3 separate regions of the Homo sapiens genome follow, and regions 2 and 3 are each linked to region 1. The links are contacts of gene promoters, found by promoter capture Hi-C in blood cells and fetal thymus (Javierre and others, 2016). All regions are on one chromosome and are shown on one strand. The core of a region is centred on a gene start or on the middle of the fragment in contact, and the rest is flanking DNA. Distances in the headings are between cores, read along the strand shown.

Evidence for each region. Contacts are between HindIII fragments. The CHiCAGO score rates a contact against its expected background, and 5 or more counts as called.
Region 2: a contact is called between a fragment that was not itself captured here and the fragment with the promoter of PEX10 in region 1, in 2 of 17 cell types (endothelial precursors and M0 macrophages). The highest score is 9.4, in endothelial precursors.
Region 3: a fragment that was not itself captured here is called in contact with the fragment with the promoter of PEX10 in region 1 in 1 of 17 cell types (endothelial precursors); the score reaches 6.3 in endothelial precursors.

Annotation. Positions count from the first base shown.
Region 1 is chr1:2,409,157-2,413,922 of GRCh38, forward strand. PEX10 (peroxisomal biogenesis factor 10) reads right to left here and starts at 3,408. Exons shown (of 6, transcript NM_002617.4): 1 at 3,235-3,408; 2 at 1,215-1,295. The coding sequence starts at 3,346. RefSeq lists enhancers at 1-26, 2,055-2,635, 2,636-3,216, 3,217-3,797, 3,798-4,377 and silencers at 2,994-3,373, 3,534-4,133. The HindIII fragment of the contact is 16,041 bases long and covers 1-4,766 here.
Region 2 is chr1:3,422,227-3,426,776 of GRCh38, forward strand. PRDM16 (PR/SET domain 16) reads left to right here. Exons shown (of 17, transcript NM_022114.4): 13 at 3,355-3,524; 14 at 3,825-3,999. Among named protein-coding and RNA genes, the nearest start is that of ARHGEF16, 30 kb to the right of the region's middle. The HindIII fragment of the contact is 4,030 bases long and covers 1,150-4,550 here.
Region 3 is chr1:3,505,685-3,510,604 of GRCh38, forward strand. It overlaps MEGF6 (multiple EGF like domains 6), which reads right to left. Exons shown (of 37, transcript NM_001409.4): 11 at 4,186-4,308; 12 at 3,391-3,561; 13 at 2,874-3,005; 14 at 2,111-2,239; 15 at 424-552. Among named protein-coding and RNA genes, the nearest start is that of MIR551A, 53 kb to the right of the region's middle. The HindIII fragment of the contact is 736 bases long and covers 883-1,618 here.

The sequences.
Region 1 (4,766 bases), core at 2,158-4,657:
TTCTCCCTAGCTGTCCCCGCCACCTCCCCCAGCCCAAGCACTCGGATCCAGTCCCATGGCTCTCCACCAACCACACAGCTGGCACCACCCGATTTATGCCCAGCCTGGACCTTACTTGTGAGTGCCAGCCATGCAGGTCCGCCACCTACCTGACATCGCCATGTATGCTCAGATGAGCACCCCAATTCCACCCCTGCCGAGACAGCTTTCAGCGCCCCCACCCAGAAAAGCCTGCTCCCCGTTTCCATCTCTGTGGATGGCAACGCCAGGCCTCCGGTTCCTGAGGTCAAGCCCAAGGGGCACCCTGCATGCACCTTCCCTGTGTGTTCCACCCCCTCGCTGCCGCCCCTGCTCTGTACCACCACCATCCTGTGGGGGACTGTCACAGCCTCTGTAGTCTCCCTGAGCCCAACTTTGTCCCCTGAGGTCTGGTCTTAGCTAGTGGTCGGCCTCTCCCCTGCCCACGTCCCTGGAATGCCCCAAGCCTCGCACAGGGAAAGCTATGGGCTTACAAAACTCACGAGCCCCCCGGGGTCATTCTCCCAAACCGCCAAGGACGTGTTCTTCTCAGGGCCTTTCCCGGCTGCTTGCTCTGCCGGTCTGGAAAATGCTCTTCCCTAAGACGTGGTCTTTATCTCTGAGAGCCCCTCACTTCCCAAGATGCTCTGTGACGCAGCCACATCTGTCTCCCGCCCACCGAGCACACTCTCCATGGCGGCAGGATGCCCGGGGCGAGCCCCTCGTAGGGAACCAGGCTGGCACTCGGTGGTCCTTGCTACATGCTGAGCTGGGGTTGGGAGCCTGAGAGCTTCTGTCAACAACTCCCTCTAAAGGGTGGTGACCAGCCTGGGCCACAGACCCACCACTGCTCCACCAGGGCACTGTCACACGGGCACTGCACCCTATGACATGGCTCAGCACTGTGACTCACTGGTGCCACCAGGGCTGGCCACTGAGAAATGGGTCTCAGTGGCACCCGGGGTAAAGTCTTAAACAAAGAACCCCAGGGACACACAAAGGCTGGAAAAGTCGGCTCCCTGCTGGGAGCAGATGCCTCGCCTCCCTCGGAGCAGTACCTCCTGCACTTCCCTGAAGCAACCTCACCCGGGCCAGCTCCAGGAGCTTCTCACACTGCCTGGCAGCCCCCTGGCCACCGTCCCCAGACTTGGTGTGTGTGGCTGCCCTCAGTCCTGAGGTCCCGTGGGAGCTTCTACCTGCAAGTGTGGTGAGGCCAAAGTAGGCCACATCTGAGAGCAGCTCAACCTCCTTCCTCCACTCCAGCCACTTCCTCGCACCTGAGAGGAGAAACAGTATTAGTCCGGGGGAGCTGGTGGGCATCCTCTGAGGATGAGGGACCACAGTCCTCCCCCAGTTGTCTAGGCCCAGATCCAGTCCCACCCCTTCCATGAAGCCAACACTCACTCCCTGGCCTCCCTCTCTGCTTCTGTCTCCGGAGGCACCACCTTGACTTGCCTTAGCGTGAGCTGCAGACAGTCTGCGAAGAATCTCCCACCTGTGCTCATCTCTTGCTCCGGGATTCCCCTGAGCAACTGTTCTAGGGCCTATGAGGGCCACATGGAAAGATGGTCTGGGGTATTAAGATTACAGGCCAGAGGCCAACTGTCTAGCATCAAAAAGCAGCTCTCCAACTTGCTGGCTGTGAGGTCTTTCTGGAATCTCAATTTGCTCATCTATCAGAAGAGTAATAAGTCCTACTTGGAGGGATGTTTGAAGATTCAATATTTGTAAAACACTGGGAACAGTGTCTGGCACAGGGGTAAGTGCCAAGTGTACTGTAAAACAAGTAAGTACACACACAAAAAATTCTCATCATGTCACTCTCCTGTTCAGAATCCACCAATGGCTGCCCACCTGACACCCATGGGCCTCCCGGCACGGAGCCTGGCTGTCCTCTGATATTTACCCATGCTCTTCCTGTCCCATGGCACTGTTCCTTTGGCCACGACACCCCCACCACTGGGCTCTAGTGCCACTGCTCCCTGAAACGTTCTGCTGGGAGTTCATGCCTTTAACGACTGCCTGCCCCACCCCCCAAAGACTTGATGGCTTTGCCTTTTTTTTTTTTTTTTTTTTTTTGAGATGGAGTCTCACTCTGTTGCCCAGACTGGAGTGCAGTGGCACGATCTTGGCTTACTGCAACCTCCGCCTCCCGGGTTCAAGTGATTCTGTCTCAGCCTCCCAAGTAGCTGGGATTACACGCACGCGCCACCACGCCCTGCTGATTTTTGTATTTTTAGTAGAGACGGGGTTTCACCATGTTGTGTAGACTGGTCTCGAACTCCTGACCTCAAGTGATCCACCCGCCTCGGCCTCCCAAAGTGCTGGGATTACAGGCGTGAGCCACCACACCCGGCATCTTTTTTTTTTCGTTTTTTAATCGGTGATGGGGTCTGGCCCCGTCGCCCAGGCTGGAGTGCAGCGGCACAATCATGGCTCACTGCAGCCTCATCCCTCGGGCTCAGGCGATTCTCTTGCCTCAGCCTCCTGAAGAGCTGGGATTACAGACGCCGCCACCACGTCCGGCTAATTTTCAGATTTTTTGTAGAGACGGGGTCTTGCCATGTTGCCCAGGCTGGTTTCAAACTCCTGGGCTCAAGCGATCCTCCCGCCTCTGCCTCCCAAACTGCTGGGATGACAGGTGCTGCTTCATTGAGTACACTGGCTTCTGTACTCAGCTCCCGGCCTGGTGAGGCAGGCAGGGCCTGGCTGAGCCTACACTGGGGTCAGCAGGGCGAGGGGCCTGGGCTGCTGCTCAGGCCTAGGAAAGGCCGGGGTCAGTGTGAACCGGACCGAGGTATGAGGCGTTCGCGCCGCGGGCGCTCTGACCCCTCTGCTCACAGGGGAGGATCGGAGGGAGGCTTGAAGCACTTGCCAAGGCCTCACACCTGGAGGGGACAGAGTCTTCCCCAGCCGCTGGCGTCAGCTGGACCTGCCCTGAGCTGGGGACGGGAAGGGCTTGGGCGGGAACTGGAGGCCCACGCAGGTCCCCCGCGGTGTCTGCGGCCTGTGCCTCTGGGGCCACCTGGCCAGGGAGGGCAGGAGGTGCCCCGCACATCCCTGAATGGCCGCAGGGCAGGCGAAGGAGACTGCCGGGTCCCAGGTTGTGGGACGGGCCCAGGCGACCGTGACCACACACGGCAGACACCCCGCCTCCATGAGGGGCAACACCCCCTGGGCCGCTCGCGAGGACGTCCGGCCGCGCCCGGCCCTCACCCGCCAGGCTGTGCAGGGCGCCGCCCGCCGCGCTCCGCAGCCCACCGCGGTAGTACTCGTCCTTCTGCGCCGCGCGGATCACCTCCGGGGGGCTGGCGGCGGCCGGGGCCATGGCCGCGGGTTCGGGTGGTCCCGAGCAGCCACGCCGGCCACGCCCACGCCCAGACGGGCGAGAACTGATGACGGCACGACGTGGCTCTGCGTGCGGCGCAGACCTCTGCGTCAAGGTGCTGGGGCGGGGCCGGACTGGGGCTGGAGGCGGGGCCAGGGCCCGGGCGGAAGCGGGGCTGGAGTCCGAACCAGCGCAGCGCGGGGCGGGGCAGCGGGAAGGTAGTCGGAGGCGCAGGGCGGAGCGGAGCGGGGCGGGGCCCGCGAGCCGAGGTGGGGGCGGGGCACGCGCGAGGGGCGCTGGCGAGGCAGCGGGATGGGCTCGCGGCCGCGTGGTTGCTGCGACCTCGGGGTCCTACGCTGCCAGGGGCCCCTGCTCTGCTCCCTGCACGTCCACGGGCCGCCCTCCCACTGGGGACAGCGCTGCGGAGTGGAGACGCTGCAGGCCCATTTACGGCTGGGGAGACGGAGGCTTTCGCTTGGGTCTTCGGGAAGCCGAGCTCCCAGCGCCGGCCGCGGCGGTCCCGCCCTCGCGCCCTTTGAGCTGCGCGGGCTCTCAGCGCGGGTTGGCCAGTTCCGGGGAGCCGGTCGGTTTGGGGGCCAGAGGGGCACGAGGCGAGACCCGGGACCTTCCAGGCCCCGAGCAGCCGCCTTCCCCAGTAATCCTGCGCGAAAAGCACACGGCCGGCTTGGTGTGGACGCCCCCCTGGTGCCCACGGGAGGCAGGGCCTGGCGGGTGGGGGGCAGCCGGGAAGCCGCCGCGTGGTTCCAGGACGGGCGGAAGGTGGCCTTCCACCCTCCACCCTCCACCCTGCCTGGCCTGAGCCCCGCAGGTGCTCTGGGGAACCACATCGCAGGCGCTCCGATCCCTCTGCTCCCAGGGGACGAGCGGAGGGAGGCCTGAAGCACTTGCCAAGGCCGCACACCTGGAGGGGACAGAACCTTCCCCAGCCGCTGGCCACAGCTGGACCTGCCCTGAGCTGGGGGTGGGAAGGGCTGGGGCGGGAACTGGAGGCCCACGCAGGTCGCCTGCGGTGTCTGCGGCCTGTGCCTCTGGGGCCGCCTGGCCAGGGAGGGCAGGAGATGCCTGGTACATACCTGAATGGCTGCAGGGCAGGTGAAGGAGAAGGCCCTGTTTTTTGGCCCCAAGGGCAGCACTTGGCCCTGGAGAGTCCTGCAGGATTGCAGGAGGAAGGCAGGGCACGACAAGGGGGCGTCTGCGCCCCGCTGACCTCAGTGGGGAGGGCCTCCAGTTCCTTGCCTCACCTCTGGTTCCATCTACAGGAGCTCAGCTGTGGGATCATCCCCAGACTGGCACAGCCCAGTCACAAAGCCAGAGCCCCACACTGCAGGAATGGCCCCTCTTACAGGGAAGGGGCATGGCCTGGGTGGCCCCGCCCCGCAGGCCCTCTGGCTACCAAACC
Region 2 (4,550 bases), core at 1,915-4,414, 1.0 Mb after region 1:
CAGGCAGGGCAGACAGGCAAGAAGGCAGACAGACAGGCAGGTGGACAGACAGATGGACAGACAGGCAGGCAGACAGACAGGCAGACAGACAAGCAGATGGACAGGCAGGAAGGCAGATAGACAGACTGGCAAGCAGGCAGACTGGCAGGCAGACAGACAGTCAGGCAGGCAGACAGATTGGGCTGCCTCAACATGCCAGAGGGGCACATGGCCCCAGCTGGGTGGGAAGCCTCTGGCTGGGCAGAGCCTGAATGCTCAGACTGGCAGGTGCTTTGCATCCGGGCTGGAGACGCAGAGTCCAGTGTGTCCTTTCTCAGCAGTCAGTCAGCCTCAAAAGCATGGCGGTCCCAGGGCCAGGCACCACCATTCCAGTCTAAGGATGTGTCAGGGTGGGGGATGTGAGAAAATGCATTGGAGGGTGTAAAATCCCTCCTTTCTGGGAGATTGTGTGGGACACGTCGGGTAGGGGGGCACCCAAGCATCTCCAACCCTGCTGCCGAAAGGGCTCCATCCTCGGCCTTATTCTTGTGTGAGTTCACAGGCCGAGTCAAACAAAACTGCAGCGCCGCCCAGGGCAGGCTTTGTGGATGGCCAGTCCAAGCCAGGGCGCTGCCTGTCACTGGGCTGTGGGAGGAGACGCTGGGACCCGGGTGCCCGGAGGCAGCTCAGCTGACCCGGGCAGGAGCAGGGGCTCCCAGAGAAGAAGCCCACAGGCCAGGCCCCTGGGATCAGGAGCAGAGAAGGCTGAGGGTCACTTCGGGGAGCTCAGGGACTTCGATCACCAATGCTTCTTTTCCTGTCTACTGTTGAAGAGGCCAGAGTGAGCCTGGCCTCCGGCAAAGGTTGGAAGGTTCAGGAATTGAGTGGATGAAGCCTTAGGGCAGCACCAGGGAAGTTTGCTGGGACGAAGTGGGATGGGGATATGCCTCGGCCAGGCGTGGGAGAGGAGTGCCCTTCTCCCAGGACTGCCTCCCGTTCTCTAGGGGACCCATTTTCAGACTTGCTAGGTTTTACCAGGCAGCCTGGGGAGTTGGGGGAGACTCGCAGGCTCTGAGATTCCAAGGACAGTTTCTCACGGCCGCAGCCCCTGCACGTGGGGAATGCTGAGCTCCTGGGCCCGGCAGCAGCACCCGGAAGGTGTGGGACTGAAGCTTCCTGCCTTGGGGAGGCCCCTGCGGGTGTGTTGATGGCAGGTCAGACTCCCTCGCCAGGCTTTTGTGATAGCAAACACCAGCCCAGGCCCCTCCTGTACAGGGCAGCACCGTGCCGAGAAGGCCGAGCCACACAGCCCCTCCCGGTCTGGGAGGCCAGGACTCCCGAGTGTCACCAGGCACGTCCCCATCCATGTGACAAGGGCATGTGACCAGTATGCTGCTCTGGAGCGGGCCACCGGCACCGGTCGGGGCGGGGTGGGGCCTCTCGGAGTCCTGTCCTCTGTGGGAACGAAGGCCACTGTGCTTAGAACAGCCACACCCACTCCGGGTGAACAAACCCTGCCCCATCCTGGTGCCTCCACAGAGGCTCCCACAGAGGCCCTGGCCTGGTCTCCAGCTGCTACCAGGCCCCCCCGGCCAGGATCCTGCTGCAGTGGGTAGACTTTCTGTGTGCTGTGCCATGGGCATCATGGAGCTTGCTTTGTTTTCAAAATATGAAAACGCATGATCATATAAACAGAATGTTCAAGTGCGTGTGTGCCTGTGGGATCAGATGAGCACCGCTGCGGGCGTTCTGATGACCAAGAGCACACACAAGTGTGCACACACAGGCATGGCACACACGCACATGCCAAGCACCCACGTGCAACTGAAAACCATGCAGTCAGGGTTCCCTTCACCGTCGCCCAGCCCAGCCGGGTGCCTCTCAGTAAGCCAGTCCCAGCCCCCCGCCGGATGCCCCCCAGGGAGGAGGCTGTCTTCACAGAGGCAGCGCACGTGCATCTACAGAGCTCATGGGGTTCCTCCTTAGCTCATCCCCAGCTCCCCCTCTTCGTTTCAGGCATGATTTTCTTGCTGCTCAATGCACATGTCGCTCAGGCCCCCTAGTTCTCAGCCCCGCTCTCTAAAAATGGGAGAGAACAACCCTCCCTTTCCCTGCCTGCAGGGTCACCACGTGTGGCTGTGAAGGTCACTCCCAGCCCAAGGGCCCCACACTGAGGGGAACCCTCCACACGCAGCCCTCCTCGATCGCTCATTATGACGACTTTCCAGCCGCAAGGGGCCTTGCTCTGATAAACTCAGGGTGTTAGAGTCCTGCTCTGCCTGATGCCGTGGAGGCCAGATGGAGGAAGGGGGTCTCATCCCAACTTCCCCACGTGCACGGTGCAGGCCGGCAGCAGCCCTGCCCACCCTGGGGGAATAAAGATAAACCGAGCCCGGGAGCTGGCAGTGCCCAAAGGGGCCAGTGTGGTCTTTGTGTCCTTAATAGAGGAGGCAGCCAACAAGTGGCAACATCCAGGGCAGCCCCCAAGCCCTCCATGAATGGACTGGCAAACTGAGGCTCCAAGTGAGGTGGGGCCTGCCCAGGGGCCCCCAGCCACCTCGAGGGGTGGAGGAGGAAGGTCACAGGGAGCTGGTCTGGGAGCTGGTCTGTGGAGCCCCTCCGGCTGGGAAACTGGCCTTGCCGAGTGTCTTTCCATGGAGCAAGGCCGCCCTCTGGAGGCTGCAAGGAGCATGTCGCCCTCCGGCTGCAGACCTGCCGGCCCCGCGGCCTGGGGGCCAGGGAGACCCAGACAACAGAGGGCAGGAGACGCCGGAGGGTCGGGCGCACCGCCTGCCCAGGGGACACGGGGCACACTCCAGGGGGATCCACCAGCCAGCCACAGAACAGTAGGAGGGTGAACGCCTGCTTGCTTTTTTTTTTTTTTTTTTTTGAGATGGAGTCTCGCTCTGTCGCCCAGGCTGGAGTGCGGTGGCGTGATCTTGGCTCACTGCAAGCTCCGCCTCCCGGGTTCACGCCATTCTCCTGCCTCAGCCTCCAGAGTAGCTGGGACTACAGGCGCCCACCACCACGACTGGCTGATTTTTTTGTATTTTTAGTAGAGACGGGGTTTCACCATGTCAGCCAGGATGGTCTCGATCTCCTGACCTCGTGATCCACCCGCCTTGGCCTCCCAAAGTGCTGTGATTATAGGCGTGAACCCCTGCTTCTTGAAGCCGGGGCTGTTTCTAGGGACAGCTTCCCCAGGATGCCTTTGGCTCTGCAGCTGGGAGATCCAGCAACCTCCGGGACACGGCGGGGCAAAGCTGTGCACGGGGCACGGGGCAGGGGCGCGGGCTCCCTTCCCCCCACCCTCTGTGGCCCGGCCTGCCATGCAGAGCCGGGGCCTGCACTGAGGAGCGCGTGTGCCCCTTCCAGGTGTAAGTACTGCGACCGCTCCTTCAGCATCTCTTCGAACCTCCAGCGGCACGTCCGGAACATCCACAACAAGGAGAAGCCTTTCAAGTGCCACCTGTGCAACCGCTGCTTCGGGCAGCAGACCAACCTGGACCGGCACCTCAAGAAGCACGAGCACGAGAACGCACCAGGTGGGCCACGCGGGGTGGGGCAGCCCCCAGAGCACCCACACGGGCAGGCCCCACAGAGGGGGAGGGGGAACAGCAGGGGAGTGGGCGCCGGGCAGGGAAGAGGGCCACAGACTACCCCTCAGGAAGCCAACAGGCACCCCTCAAACCGTGGTCATTAAAGAGAACCTCGTGCTCTCCGGTGTCCCTAAGAAACCTGCCTCCCTAACAGCACCCCAGGTGTACCCCGTTCGCGGTTGGTTTGCCCCACGGAGGGAGGGGTCCAGCGAGAGGCCGCCCCCTGATGCTCCCGCCCCTCCGCAGTGAGCCAGCACCCCGGGGTCCTCACGAACCACCTGGGGACCAGCGCGTCCTCTCCCACCTCAGAGTCGGACAACCACGCACTTTTAGACGAGAAAGAAGACTCTTATTTCTCGGAAATCAGAAACTTTATTGCCAATAGTGAGATGAACCAAGCATCAACGCGAACAGAGAAACGGTAAGAAAACTATCGCGGGCTGGGGAAAGTCTGGACCCGGCCAACAGCCCTGCGTGGCCACCCTCAGAGGACATGCACCTCCACCCCAGCACCAGCCCCTAACACATCCAGATAGGCGCAGTGGGGGCCTCACCACAGAGGGTGAGGCCCCTGGGCTCTGGGAACCTGGGGAAGCTGCGCTGTCTGCCTCAGTTCCTCCACCTGGAGAGTCATGAGAGTAAGCACCCCTGGGCTTATGACCTCACTGTTAACATATGTGTGTGCAAAACACTAGCCAGGTGACCGAGCCGGGCACAAGTTCAGCTGTGCCGCTGACACTCAAGGACATTTTGATTTAATCTGAGGCACTAAAGATTTCCAAACCAAAATGCTGCACCTTTATACACACATGTACACACATACACATGTGTACACATGCACGCACACACATGCACACATAGGTATGCCCCGTGTACATGTACACATTCACATGCACATATGCACACAGAGATGCACGTTTGTATACATGTGTATACATATGCCATTGATGAATCCTCACTTGTTCCTCACCT
Region 3 (4,920 bases), core at 1-2,500, 1.1 Mb after region 1:
CCCCTGCAGCCCACCGCCCCTTCCCTGAGTGTCTGAACCCCAGGGATGGGTGACCCCACCAGGGACTCAGAGCTTGGCCTTGCTGCCAGGAATCTCCAAAAGCCAAGATAGGCCTCATCCCCCGGAGGCTTCTGCAAAAGGCCTGGCCCTGCCCTCATCTGCAGCCCTACCACCCATCAAGGCTGGGAGGCACAAGGTTGGGGACCATCCACCCAGACGCCCTGGATGCCAGCACAGTCACAGTCGAGAGGATGTGGCTTGGAGTCCACAGACTCATGGCGGACCCCAGACCTACATCCCAGTGGGTGACCTGGCTGGGCCCCGATAGCCTCATCCTAACCCAGACTACAGGTAACAGGACATGGACCATCCCTTCCACCCGCTGCCACCACCATGGACACTGGAAGGGGCAGTGAGACTCACTGAGGTGGCAGAAGCGGCCGTAGAGCCCTGGGTCGCAGAGGCAGGCCCCGTAGAGGCGGTGGCACCGGCCCCGGTTGGCACAGTTGCATTTCTTGCGACAGTGCTTGCCATAGTAGCCCTTGGGGCAGCCTGGGGGCAGCGGGGCTCCATGTGAACCTTGGTGGCAGCCAGCCTACCACATGTGGTCCCCCCATGTGGTAGGATGCGCGGGGGCCCAGGGCCCAGCACAGGAGCTGGGAGCAGCCCCCGCCAGGGCACTAGGTGAGCCTTCCGGATGTGGCCGTCTGCCCTGGCTGGTCTGTCCCCTACATCCCCTGCCCCCAGGGTTTGTGGCAAGGGCGGGTGGAAGAGCACATTCCTCGGCCCACACTGGAGAGATGCACAAAGCTCACGCCCCACTCTCCCCAAAGTCTGGCCCCCATCAGGAGCCGCCTGACTTCTGTCCCCTGGTGGTCACTAAGCTTGATCTCAGAGCCTCAAAGCGGGAAGGACACGTGGCCCCAGTAGACAAGGTCCCAGGCCCAAGCCGCAGGTGGCCCCAGAGCTAGAAAGGTCCTCGCCTTTCTTCCCCAAACAATTCTCTCTGGCTGGGTCCTGCCCCACGTCCTTCCTCCTACTGAAGGCGGTAGTCAGCTGAAGGTACCCCCACAACTACATACACGTCCTAGTCCCCAGGACCTGGAGACTAGGCACAGTTGCATTTCTTGCAACAGTGCTTGCCATAGTAGCCCTACATTATCCAGGCTGGCCCTGAATCCAAAGACAAACATCCTCATCTGAGAGGCAGGCGGAAGCCGAGACAGAAAGAGGAGGCCTGGAGAAGGGGAGGTGACCCCTCAACGCTGCAGGCAGCCTGGAGGGTACAGCACGATCCCAGGGGTGCAGCACCCAGGAATGAATACGGGGGTTCCCCAGCACCCTGTAGAATAGAAAGGGCAGACAAAGTGGGGAAGGGAGGCACACTGACAGGGAAGAGGTAGGAAGCCCTGTGTGGCTGCCTGGGGTCCCCACCACCACCAGGCAACCAGCCCTGCAGAGCCCAGCACATACGGCCAGGAAAGCTCACGGGGCCACCTGGGGGACAGGTTCTAGGGTTGGCTGTCTTCCTCTCACAAAGGCAGAAAGTTTATGATACGTTAGCTGCACTCTCCATCGAAAGAGGCAGAAATGATGAAGTCTGAAGACTTAAAGATGAAGCTTTAGCCACCTGGGAAACATTTTCTGGACTAATTCCTCCAGAAAGGCTGAAACTTCAGAGTTAATAAGGGAGCCAACATCATCCCTTGCAGCCACTGGCCCCCAAGTAATCCCTTCTGCAAACCTCACCCAGCCATCACCAGCTCTACTTGAATGCTTCCAGGAACAGGGACCTCACTGCCTCTCAAGGGAACCCATTCCAAAAGTGCTGCTCTGTAGTCTTATCGTCTGCTACAGTTAGGCCCTGGGAAAATTAGCAACAGTGAAAAAGCAATACCCCTCTCATTCAAGGGCCTCATTCTCTCTCAAGCACAGCCTAAAGCTCTGGAGACAGGGAGGCAGGAAGGAAAGGGAGTCTAGGAAAAGTTTGGTAGCAGTTTCCCTGCTCCAGTGGGAGGAAGGAGACAAGGAGGACGTGGAGGGGTGGTGTCTCCCACTTCCCTTACAGCCCAGGGGTAATTCCAGAAGCACCAGAAGAGGCTGCACGCACCATCCTCACAGTTAGTTCCACTGACACCCGGGGGGCAGCGGCAGGCCCCCGTGACAGAGTCGCAGGTCCCACCATTCTGACAGCTGCAGGAGAAGCTGCAGTTCTTCCCAAAGGTGTCCGGAGGACAAGCTACAAAGAATGACAGGGAAGCGTCAGGGTCACCAGCCAGCACGACACTCTGAGACCCCTTCCTAGGGTTGGAGGCTTGGGTTTAGAAGCAGTTGCCTAGAGATAAAATGATGGCACTTGTACCACATCACCCCTGCCCATGCTCATGGCAGACATCACTAATTGATCACTGACTCCTCTCTCTGAACACCAGCAGAGAGAGGAGTCTCCTCCTTCTGAACCAGCTCTTTCAAACAGGCAGAGCCTCACTGACAGTTATGACGGGTCCCTGGCCATCTGAGCTAGAGGAACCCCACCTGCCGGCTGCCCTTCAGCAGACACCCCTCACTGTCTTAGTTATTTGCTGGCTTGCTTGTTGCTGGACCGTGAAGACTGATATTTAGGAAGGACAAACACTTTAACTTGCTTGTTCCCAGGGAATCCTTACTGCCTGGAACAGTGCGTGGCATAGAGTGGACAGTCAGGGGATGTTTATCAAAGGAATTAACAAATGGATGAATGAATGGCTCTGCACAGAGCCCCCTGCCCAGGGCCAGCAGGCAGGAGTAAAACTGAATGGGCTCAAAGGGCTGTCCCCAGGTCTTGGGGCTCAGAGGCCCCTTCCCAGCCCCCAGCCCCTGCCCAGCTGCCTCACTCTCATTGCAGATGAGCCCAGTCCAGCCCTCGGGGCAATCACAGCCATCCAGGCCCAGGAGGCAGGTCCCTCCGTTCCTGCAGTCATCACAGGTCAAGCTGCAGTCATGGCCAAAGGAGTCATCCAGGCAGACTGGGGGCAGACCAGGATGGGGGGATTCAGAGCCTGACCCCTGGCCTCAGCAGGCACAGAGGCCCGGCTCAGACCCTCAGGCCAGGGAAGGGGCATAAGGGGCATCCTCGGCCCATGAGGGCCCCCAAAGGGTGACATGGGGACAGATGCTGGGGCCAGAAGGAGCCCTAACCTGGAAGCTGTGAGCCCGGTCCCGCCCGGCTCAGCCCGCACGAGCTGCGCAAACTGAGCCAGTGGCTCACCCTCTCTGGGCCTTGGTCTAACATGGCATTGCAGGGGTCCTTCCTCACGTCCCCAGCCTCTGATTGGATGGCAGCCTAGCCCGAGGGGTCGCTGGCTGCTGGCCCTGCGAGCAGGAGCCCCCGGGGGCTGGGCCCGCGCTCACCAAACTTCTCTGTGAGCGTGTGTTCGCCCCGCAACTCTGCCTCTTCCTCATCGGCCCCGACGTCGTCATCCTGGAAGAGTTGCGGCAGCTCGTCCTGGAGCACGGCAATGTGGGGCAGGGGCCGCACGAAAGGCAGCTCGCCGTCCAGGTCCACCATCGGCTCCTCCAGGGCTGCCAGGGGCACAGAGGCGCCTTAGCCCCTGCCACCCACCTGCCTGCTCCAGCGACCCCCCGGCGGGTAGGGCTGGGCCTAAGCCCCACCCCAGGGAACCCCACCACCCTCCTACTGCCTCCACTACCCCCACCTCCTCAGCCTGGTCCCAGGGGTCATCCCAGCTGCACCCGACCCTCCTTCTCAGGAAAGAGAAGGCTCTGGGCCCTGAGGACCTGAACCCGGCCCCTCTGCCCCCAGCCTCATCCCAACTCTAGGGACTCTGGGGCCTAGAGGGGTAGGGGTGGGAGCAGCTGCCATCAGTCCCAGGGACAACATCACCTTAGGTCTTGGTCCCTTCTCTCACGTGGTCAGGACAGGTGCTGGGCTCCGGGAGGATGCCTGTCTCACCAGCTTCCCCCACCCCACTGTCCCCAACCCCCACACGGCCCTCAGAAGAGGCAGGACCTCAGTGGGTCCCCAAGGGCCCAAGAGCCTCTGAGGTGTGTTGGCCCAGAGAGGCCAGGGGGCAAAGGACCCCAGGCAGGTGGGGGTGGGGTGGGCCAGGCCTGCGGGACGCAGGGTCAGCTGGGGCAAACTCGAGAAGGCAGAGGCCGGTGCTCCGCGGAGGGCGGGAGACTCACGGCTGCAGCCCCTACGGTCCTCGTGCAGCCGGTAGCCGGCCTCGCAGGAGCACTGGAAGGAGCCGGCCAGGTTGGTGCAGTGGTGCTCGCAGCCGCCACGGCTGGAGGCGCACTCATCCACATCTGCGGGCGACCCGGGACCACTGAGGCCTGTGCTCCCAGGTGGGGAACCAGGAAGGCCCCTGCCCACCCAGTCCTACCCACAGGACTGAAGCCCTGGTGGCCCTGCCAGAGCTGAGTAGCATCTCTTCAACCAGCCAGTAAAACTCACCCTCAGCCACAGAGGCCACTCTGGCCATCCTCCCAGCCCAGGGTCAGAGCCATGGCAGACACGTGCTAGGGGGGGCCAGGCTGGGAGGGGCCGGCCAGGCAGCAGCCAGGGGGACAGGCCCAGCTCCAGGAGAGAGCGGCCAGTGACCTCAGGCCAGAGGGAGGGAGGGGACAGGTCAGCACAGCCCTCCAGGCAGCAGGCACTCAACCAACACCCACAGCCCTGCACGCAGCAGGCGCTCAACCAACGCCCACAGCCCTGAACTCAGCAGGGGCTCAACCAACACCCATAGCCCTGCACGCAGCAGGCGCTCAACCAACACCCACAGCCCTGCACGCAGCAGGCGCTCAACCAACGCCCACAGCCCTGCACGCAGCAGGTGCTCAACCAACGCCCACAGCCCTGAACTCAGCAGGGGCTCAACCAACACCCACAGCCCTGCACGCAGCAGGCGCTCAACCAAC